Regions from separate parts of the Homo sapiens genome. Here all the other regions are linked to region 3. Evidence: promoter capture Hi-C in 16 types of primary human blood cells and fetal thymus (Javierre and others, 2016). All regions are on one chromosome and are shown on one strand. Each heading gives the region's core, a stretch centred on a gene start or on the middle of the fragment in contact. The rest is flanking DNA. Distances are from core to core; before and after follow the strand shown.

The links. The method cuts DNA at HindIII sites, captures the fragments that hold promoters and counts their contacts. A CHiCAGO score of 5 or more calls a contact.
Region 1: a contact is called between a fragment that was not itself captured here and the fragment with the promoter of UTP20 in region 3, in 3 of 17 cell types (fetal thymus, naive CD4 T cells and total CD8 T cells). The highest score is 7.4, in fetal thymus.
Region 2: a fragment that was not itself captured here is called in contact with the fragment with the promoter of UTP20 in region 3 in 3 of 17 cell types (endothelial precursors, M1 macrophages and M2 macrophages); the score reaches 7.9 in endothelial precursors.

Annotation. Positions count from the first base shown.
Region 1 is chr12:101,770,262-101,773,594 of GRCh38, reverse strand. It overlaps GNPTAB (N-acetylglucosamine-1-phosphate transferase subunits alpha and beta), which reads left to right. Exons shown (of 21, transcript NM_024312.5): 8 at 2,438-2,599; 9 at 3,010-3,189. It also overlaps the pseudogene ST13P22. Among named protein-coding and RNA genes, the nearest start is that of SYCP3, 32 kb to the right of the region's middle. The HindIII fragment of the contact is 1,073 bases long and covers 1,547-2,619 here.
Region 2 is chr12:100,825,509-100,828,928 of GRCh38, reverse strand. All of the region lies in intron 1 of ANO4 (anoctamin 4), which reads right to left. Among named protein-coding and RNA genes, the nearest start is that of ANO4, 32 kb to the right of the region's middle. The HindIII fragment of the contact is 1,586 bases long and covers 1,005-2,590 here.
Region 3 is chr12:101,278,487-101,281,686 of GRCh38, reverse strand. UTP20 (UTP20 small subunit processome component) reads right to left here and starts at 1,582. Exons shown (of 62, transcript NM_014503.3): 1 at 1,360-1,582; 2 at 491-571. The coding sequence starts at 1,404. RefSeq lists enhancers at 1,509-1,558, 1,292-1,883. The HindIII fragment of the contact is 7,469 bases long and covers 1-1,842 here.

The DNA of each region.
Region 1 (3,333 bases), core at 834-3,333, 490 kb before region 3:
AACCCTAGGCACTAAAAAGAATAGTTTTAGTGATATACCTTCTTATCAAACAAAGAGCCAACACAAGTTATGAAATTAAACTAGACACACCCCTTCTTCGAGGTTACGCCAAGCCAGTGCCTGGGCCTGAAACTGGCCTGCAGCCCCTCAGCTTCGCCCACTGCCTTCCGACCCTGGACCTTCGCAAAGTGAACGAGCTTCGGGACTTCGTGAAAATGTATAAGCAGGATCCGAGCATTCTGCATACCAAGGAAATGTGCTTTCTGAGGGAGCAGGTGGAGAGCATGGGGGGTGAAGTACCATGTGCTACTCAGAAAGCTATTATAAATCAGAAGAAAATATCAAGGAATTAAAAACAGGTAGTAAGAAGGTGGAGGAAAACATAAGCACAGACGAACTATCAAGTGAGGAAAGTGATCTAGAAATTGATAACGAAGCTGTGATTGAACCAGACACTGATTCCCCTCAAGAAATGGGAGATGGAGGTCAGGCCTGGTGGCTTACGCCTGTAATCCCAGCACTTTGGGAGGCCGAGGCGGGCAGATTGTATGTCAGGAGACCAGCCTGGCCAATGTGATGAAATCCTGCCTCTACTAAAAATACAAAAAATATTAGCTGGGCATGGTGGTGCTTGCCTGTAATCCCAGCTACTCGGGAGTCTGAGGCAGGAGAATCACTTGAACCCGGGAGATGGAGGTTGCAGTGAGCCGAGATCACATCACTGCACTCCAGCCTGCACGACAGAGTCAGACTCCGTCTCAAAAAATAGAAATAAAAATAAGTAAATAAATTGTTCTAGAATAGTGACTTTTTCTCTCCAGGGAGCCCTCAGAAATGCTTTGGGGGTGCTGTGAGAGGGAGGAAAGGGACAGGAAAGGCCAGAGGGTAGACAGGGACCCAGGCAGACTACTAATCCCCCTGTGTGGCCTGCCTCCCAGCACCCGGCACATATGCTGAGGCAAGTTGGTGACTCAGTGAGAACCAACTTAGTGAGTACTAAATATGTGCCAGGCACTCACTAAGTAAAAGAGGTGAAAGTGGTGAGTCAGGAAGACAGTTACATGCATCTGCAGGTGCTCACACATGCACCTGCACCTAATCTGTGAGAAGAGTTAATGGCCTACATCATAAGGGGAAAAGATATAAATGAAATTTCTAACTCTCACCTCTGGTGTTCTGGACTACATACGCTCAGGAAACTGCTTAGAAAATGAGCTAAGAATAGTCATGCAGCAAATAGAAGAGCTCAGAATAAGCTCATAATAAAATTTGTGTTTGCTTTGTTTTATAGATTGAGAAAGAAGACCGTAAGCTCTTTTAGAAGCACTAGTTCAGCAGAAGGATTTTACTGTCCTACATTTGTGGTTTTCAGGCCTCTCCCCTTTTCCTGAGTGATGAAAGCCTCTTCATAGGAAGTTGTGTGATACAGAGTCAGAACAGAAAACAGATAAAGAGTGGTGTGGACTTTCGTAGGGGTGGCAAAGCCTGTTTGTGGAACTTGATGTTTGTGATGTTCACGCTTAGATTTATGATTGCCCCAAAAGCTTTGCCCCAAAAGGTAGTTTTCCCATGGAAGCACTTCAGGCAGTCCTGCCGAAGGTGCTCCTCCCAGGCACGTGGCACAAAAGCTGTTCAGACACCCCACTAGCAGATGTACTTGTCACCAATTCCAGCAAGGTTAATTACATTGCAGATTTTTTGCCCAATATAAGCAGATTGGTAATATTCTAGAAGAAAAGTCACAGAACTGTTGGCCAGCAGGTGTACTTGCAAAGAAGTCAAAAATCATTTGAGCCAACATTGAAAAATTGGGGAGATTTCATACAACAGTTGGGGATTCTTGCCTCTCAGGAGATCTGGCAGCACTTGGTGCCATTGAGTGGTTGCAGCTCTCAGATGGCTCTGAGGTGTCCAGTTTGCCACTGCCTTTACCATTCCTTCTTGTTTTTAGACGCCTATTTTTTTAACATTCATTTGGGAAATGCATCTGGTCTGTGTAGGTCTTTTTGTTGTGTTTTGATATTGTCTTACCATTTCAAGATTAAAGATCAGGCCAGTTGCAGTGGCTCACGCCTGTAATCCCAGCACTTTGGGAGGCCAAGGCAGGTGGATCACCTGAGGTCAGGAGTTGGAGACCAGCGTGGCCAACATGGTGAAACCCTGTCTCTACTAAAAGTACAAAAGTTTGCCGGGCGTGATGATGCAGTCCTGTAGTCCCAGCTACTCAGGAGGCTGAGGCAGGAGAATCGCTTGAACCCGGGAGGCGGAGGTTGAGGTGAGCAGAGATCGTGCCACTGCGCTCCAGCCTGGCGACAGAGCGAGACTGTGTCTCAAAAAAAAAAAAAAAAGGAAAGATTAAAGAGCAGAGTGGGAATTTAAAGGTGCTTCATCCTTGAGATTCAGTCTTTTCATGTGTAATCCTCTTGTTATTTGATAGTTGCAGTTGTATTCAGAGGCCAGTGTAGCGCTTCTAAAACTGAATAACCCCAAGGATTTTCAAGAATTGAATAAGCAAACTAAGAAGAACATGACCATTGATGGAAAAGAACTGACCATAAGTCCTGCATATTTATTATGGGATCTGAGCGCCATCAGCCAGGTAAGGGATGCACAGAAGCTTTTACAGCCCAAATCAAAGGTTAAGATGTTAAAAATGTGTAAGTTACTATATTAGAAGAGGGAAGGGGACTTACAGAGAGGTGAGTTGATTGGAATTTTTCTAATTTTTCAGTCACTGCCATTGGTTTGGTATTAACTGAAGTCACCTAGAATCAGATCCAAGAACCTTCTTCATAAAGTGTGTTATAGAAATGCTGTCTCTTTGAATTTTGGGTTTAAAAATATATATACTGAATCTTTTGCATTTTTTGTAATGTTTAAAATTAGGACTCCATCTTTAAAAGTCTGCCAGAGCACCTTGAGAGCAGACGGGCAGAAGGAAAGGACAAAGAGGAGGAGGTATGACTTAAGGGGTATTTCACATCTTCATATGCCAAGTGTTTTTCTCAGTCTAAGCAGGATGAAGACATCTCTGCCAGTCGTTTTGAAGATAACGAAGAACTGAGGTACTCATTGCGATCTATCGAGAGGCATGCACCATGGGTTCGGAATATTTTCATTGTCACCAACGGGCAGATTCCATCCTGGCTGAACCTTGACAATCCTCGAGTGACAATAGTAACACACCAGGTACAGGACTTTCTAAAAATTACAAGACTGTGATTTCTAATTCTGCTCTTTTAGTGTGGTACAGGGATTTCCATAATTTCATTCCCTTTACCCTTCTACCTCCATTTCTTCCTTTCTCTAGCTCTTCATTGCCTTCCCTTCCTT
Region 2 (3,420 bases), core at 548-3,047, 450 kb after region 3:
CATGCCTCAGCTTCCCAAGTAGCTGGAATTACAGGCACATGCCACCATGCCCAGCTAAATTTTTTGTATTTTTAGTAGAGATGGGGTTTTACCATGTTGGCCAGGCTGGTCTCAAACTCCTGACCTCAAGTGATCCACCAGCCTCCCAAAGCTAAATTAAGGATTTGATAAGCTATATGAAGTTGGAGAGAAGAAGAATGTTATTCATATATGTATTTCTATCTCCACCTTCCACCCTTTGCTTTTATCTGATTCCTGCTTACCTCCTGGCAATGGATACTGGTATCCTCATCGCCTTTACAATCAATCACGTGTAAAAGATATAAAGAATAAGGTGGCACCGCATGGGCTATTATTTTCCTAAAGTGGCATGAAACTAAAAACTTGAAAAGATAGGGACTCATACGTGTAAATACTAGTCATTTTGAAAATCATTTTTCTTAAAATCTTTTTCCAACACCCACAGACAGAATCACTGAAAAGACTTTTACGCTTTTTAGCAAAGTGAAGAAATGCTAAAGGATGGGGAAAGCACTAGCAGAGACCCAGGGCCTTGACTCTCCCCGCATGAGTCACTGCCACTTGGAAAATAGGAATGAGGTTTCCATGATTAAACACAGTTCCTAAAAGCAAGAACCCAGATGCATCCAAAATACCCCTCTCCAATTGGGGAATGTGCTGAAAAAAGGAGGAATGGAGGAAATATTAAATAAATGTTAGTTTTACACAAAAGGCTAAAAAGAATACAAATAATGAAATGGTCTGAAGGTAGGTAGACCAGACTTCTTGCCAAGCCCAATGAGACAGTGGACCCTACTCTGAATATGAGTGTCTAGCATCCCCTAGTGGCTGGTGCACATTAATCAAAAAAAAATTTTTTAACAGGAGTATGTATCACAACCTTGTTTCTGGAACTAAGACTCTAGATATAACTTACCCCTATCCATTTGAAATGGTGTGAAGGGACACCCGTCGTAGCCCCACACCACTGAAAACCTTAAGCTTCCCCCCAACATATATATGTTAGAAATGGGGGTGAATAATGAAGGCCAGAAGCGTAGCATCAGGAGATCTCATGTGAGCTTTTTCCTGGGGACCCCAACAGCTCTAGAGCTTCAGCTAAAGGCCTCTGCATCTGCAATGGCTGGACTTCTTACCCATTTTAGCACCTCCAAATACAGAATCCTAACCATAAATCAAGCAATGCTAAAAATGCTTTTATTATCTAAAATAATAATCTGATAAATGATTATAATCTAATATATATATTTATATCATCAAATATTGACATTTATTTCCGCTAAAATCATTCATCTGTTAACATAATTCCATTCATTTAGTCAGCTGACAGATATTTATTGAGCTCCTACTATGCAGGCATTATTCTAGGCATAGCAGTAGACAAAACAGAAAAAATTCCTACTTTCATTGAGCCAACATCTTAGAGGGATAAAAAAACAACAAAGATACATTTAATTTAAAATATAAGCTGTTATGGGGGGGTATTTCTTTCTTTTTAACAAGTTTAAATAGAAAGACCAGGAAAAATATCAATGAAAAAGATATTTTTAAATAAAAACCTGAAGAAAGTAAGGACATTAGCTATGCATATAATGATGGAAGATCTGTATTGGCACAGGGAATCGCGAGTACAAAGGTCTTAAAGCAAAAACATAATTGGGTGTGTTCAAGGATCATCAAAAGGGCCTGTGTGGCTGAAATAGGGTACATGAGGAAGAGTCAAGAAGGCCAGATGATGTAAGAGCCATTATAAGGACTTTGTCTTTTACTATCTGACTAAAGCAGAAAGCCATCAGAGGATTTTCAGCAAGGGAGTAATAGGACCTGACATGTTTTACAAGACTACTCTGGTTACTATATAGAGAACAGGCTTTAAAAGTTGGCCTGGGGAAGTAGAAGGACATAAGTAGGACGGCCAGTTAGAAGTCCATTACAGGGAGAGATGATGGGGGCTCACACAAGGATGGCCACAGTGAGGTGGTGAAAACTGGTCGGATTCTGAATATATTTTAAAGGCAGACCTGACAGATGTGGGATGTGAAAAAAAGAGTGGAGTCAAGGATTATAAGAAGATTTCAGCCTCAGTAACAAAGGATGTAGTTGCCATTGACGGAGATGGAAGAGACTGCAGGAGGAACTGGTTTGGAGAAAAATAAAAGCTCAGTTTTAGCCAGGTTAAGTTTGGAGATCTCCACTGAGATCTCATACTTAGAAACTACAATAACTAGAAATGTTACTAATAAATTCACAAGTTGTATTTACAATTCAAGCACAGTGTAAGATAAAGGAACAGGGCCATTGCGGTTGGGAGGAGGAAACCATCCCTAGAATCTCCCAAACAGCAGGCCCTAGCAAGCAACGCTGGTCCAGTACCATGGACAGCACCCAACACGCTGGTATGGACCAAATACAAAAAGAAAAACACAGAAGGTGCTAGAAATAATACATCCATGAATACGGTTAGTGAAACTCAATGCATCAATATTAATGGATACCACTGGGCTTTTTGTAGACATTTTGTTAGCTGCATCCATCAAATCACTATTATATCACATCAAAAGAATAAGCTTAGTGAATCTTTTTCTGTGAGCAATGACCATTTTCCATCTTTTTTTCTCAATTCCATCTTCAAACATATTTATTTATCTGTCTTTAAACACAATTTCAGAAAATCTGCTTTCTGAATGTTTCCGTCTTTCATAATTTTTCATATTTCAATTTTTCACTCTGTTACACTGTCTTTTGCTTATAAATATTGCTCCTTTCCCACTAATCTACGTTCATTATAAAATACCACATCAACCACAAAAGAGCGGAGAAAAGTGCAACTAACTTGCCCATAATAAGAGCTTGGCTGAGTTATAAATAATTACATTTCTCTGGCTAATGATTTGATTGGTTCAAATTCCTCAGTGATGTGCATTCCCAAGCCAGTTGATTTTGGCAACAGCTTCTATAATAAAGTAATTTTGTGCAATTTAAACTTGTTATTTAAAAATTAATAGCTAACATATTATACATAATAACACTTAAATCCTCCATGGAAACATCAGAAAATGTCCAGTCAATAGGTTGCACATAATTGAAAACCCAAAATCACATAATTCCCTTTGTAAAAGCTGAAGATATATGCAGGAATATTTTTAATCATTTATCAAAATGGTATTAGTGTTAATTATGTGTAAATATGTTAATGTCCATAATTAAGTGTTCCAAATTTTCACACCAAGCTGGGATGCTAGTTACTGAAGACTAACTCAAGGTCTAACTTGGTCCAGAAGGGGCCGTCATATGTGAGGCCTGGACATCTTCCTAGTTCTTCTTACTACAGAATCAGTTATGTCTTATCTATCACAAAATGTCTGTTCTGCTCCTTAGACATTTGTGTCTAGTTAATTA
Region 3 (3,200 bases), core at 333-2,832:
ATGACAGAGTCAGAGTATGGTTAAAACTGGAAAATATTATGTAGTCTAGCCCCTTTATTTTTATAAAGGAGAAAATTAAGCCCCGGGAAAAGGGCTTCCTCAAAATCACTTTAAAGTTATAGCTTCAGGAATATGGATCTGCAGCAGTGCTTGGAATGCATAAGGGAAAGGGAGAGGCTAGAATCACAAAGACAGCTGAAAGTCAAGTCAATTGTCTAATAGAGCTTCACCCAACAGAACTTTCTGCAAAGATGAAAATGTTCCAATTCTATATTTATTCAATATGTTAGCAACTAGCCACATTTGGGCACCCAAATTTTTAATTTACTTTAAATCCAATTTGTCATATGTGGCTACTGTATGAAACAGCACAGGTCTAAAGCATTTCATGTCCAAAAAGGAATACCTTGAAAAACAATTCACTTCTACTAACAGAAGAAACTAAAACACCATGAACACTTGAAGATTGACTAGTATCACATTCTCTTACCTCCTCATAGCTTGCAGTTCTATCAATCCGGTGAATAATATCAATATTAACATTCCCCAGTCGTTCAGCAAATGTAAGAAACTGGAAGGGAAAGTATATTTAAGATACATAATTAATTAAAATTTATCAGATCTTTAATATCTATTTGAATGCTGCATGTAGGCATCTCTAATCACAAAGGATAAGTGGAAAAATAAACTGAAAAACATACGGCCGTAAACAAATTTACTGCATCACTGTTCAAAGATAATGAATACTTCTATGTTTGCATAATTTCTCTCAGCTATGTCATTTCAAATAAAATTTCCATTGCCAGACTGGTGAGCCTAGGTGGATGCTGGCAATTAGTCTCGCTAGATCTATTAGGTTTCATACCCTCCCATAAGCATGGGGACCTAGCAAAGTCGCTGCAATAAAAGTGTTTTTAAACATATACAGACCTATGATTGTATCCTAAGGAAGACCTGGAAACAATCTATCAAGGGGCAAACAGAGAAAGCGCTGTATATTTGCCCTTAGCTGGGAATCACTCACCGCCAGCCGACTCGCCCAATTCGGTCTTTAAAGATAAAAGAGCAGGGGAGAATTGGTCCTAAGCAATCTCCTGGAATAGTGAATTTAATTCTGGACTACAGGAAATTCCCAGGACTGGCCAGACCCCATAAAACATGGGTGAAACTTGCTGTCCACACTTCTTTCCTCCTCCAACCCATGTTTACTACATCCAGTGTCTCCCTCTTTCGCCGGAGCCTCCAGGAAAGTGACACACTCGGCCCAGAAGTCTGAGGCCCCTGGAGTCTCGCTCAGAGCCTGTCTCACGACTGAGGCAGCGGAGACCCGCGGCTCCCTGCCTAAGCTCCCGCGCTCACCCGGTAGGTGTTCTCGGTCTTGTGGGAAACGGGCTTTGTCTTCATGGCTGCAGAGGGCCAGTGGCCCGCGACGGCCTCGGGAGTGTCGAAGGGATGCAACCGACAGTAAGGAGGGGAAAGCGGCTCACAGGCTATACTCTCCGATTCCCAGATGCCCAGACTTTCTCACGTGCGGCTTGAGCCCCTGGGCGCCGCCATGTTGGAGACAAGGAGGAGCCTGAGTGGGTCACGTGGACGGAAAAAAGAACGGCGCAGGCGCACCCTTTGGTGGGGTGGGGCCTACAGGAGGCGGGGCTGCGCACATAAGGGCGGGCGTTTGGGTGAGGTGTTCTTTTCACTCCCTTCGGTAAAGGTTTAGAAGACAAATGTATTTTCATTATAAAATAAAACATACCTGTAATCGTTATCAACTAACATTACTGTCCCTCACTACGTACCTGCATCGTGCAAAGATCCTTTCATCCATAATTTCACAGTAAAGCTTATTAGGGATGTTAATACAAAGGAGGTACTGCGTCTATCTATATATCTATATATAGATATATACTTTTTTTTTTTTTTTTTTGAGACGGAGTCTCACTCTGTCTCCCAGGCTGGAGGGCAGTGGCGCGATCTCGGCTCACTACAATCTCCGCCTCCCGGGTTCAAGCAGTTCTCCTGCCTCAGCGTCCAAAGTAGCTGGGACTACAGGCACCCGCCGCCACGCCCGGCTAATTCTTTTGTATTTTAGTAGAGACGGGGTTTCACCTTGTTGCCCAGGCTGGTCGCGAACTCCTGAGCTCAGGCAATCCGCCCGCCTCGGTTTTCCAAAGTGCTGGGATTACAGGTGTGAGCCACCGCGCCTGGCCGGTACTGTGTATATTTTTAAGCCAATTTGACACAAGAGGAAACCAAGGTTGTGCAGCTGGTAACTGGCAGTCTTCACTCAGACTCTAAATTTTGGTATTCTTAACCACTACGCTGTAAATAAAATTGAAAAATAGAGAAGGAGTTTTAAGAAAAATCTTTTAATTTCATGCACAACCGCTGTTAATGTTTGGTGTTTTTCCCATCACTTTAATGTCTACACATAGCATGTTGTTAAATTGTACAGTTATATATACATATATGTACAATTTTAAAAAATAATTTAAAAATATAATTATTTACCCCATTTTACATTCATTCATTCATTCAGCAACTATTTCTTGAGAGTCCTCTGTGGACCAGGTACTGTTCTGGGAGCCAAACGAGAAAGGCAATAATAGTATTAATTAATTATTTGAAAATATTCACAGCCTTCAATTCCTGGGCTAAAGTGAGCCTCCCACCTCAGCCTCCCAAGTAGCTAGGGCTACAGGCATGCACCACCACACCCAGCTCTTTTATTATTATTATTATTATTATTATTATTATTATTATTATTTGTAGAGATGGGATCTTGCTATATTGCCCAGGCTGGTATCAAACTTCTGGACTCAAGCAGTCCTCTTGGCTTGGCCTCCCAAAGTGCTGGGATTACAGGGGTGAGCCACCATGCCCAGACTGGAAATACTTGGTCTGAGATGCTTACATTTTAGTCAAGGAGTGATGTTAAGTAGACAATTGGATATATTGTTGTACAGAGCTCACTGTAGCAGTCTGGGCTGCAGACGTGACTTAAATACACCTAAATACCTCAAGTGTGAGGCATTTGCGACTGGGAAAGAGAGCCAGTAAGGTAGAAACAGACTAGTTATGGCATGGAAGCAGAGCTGGTGGCCAACTATACTGCAAATTCGAGGATAGAGAAGTGGTTGCTGGATCTGACAAGGTGAAGGTCACTGGTGACCTTGCTAAGTACAGTCTAGTTGGAAGAAAGG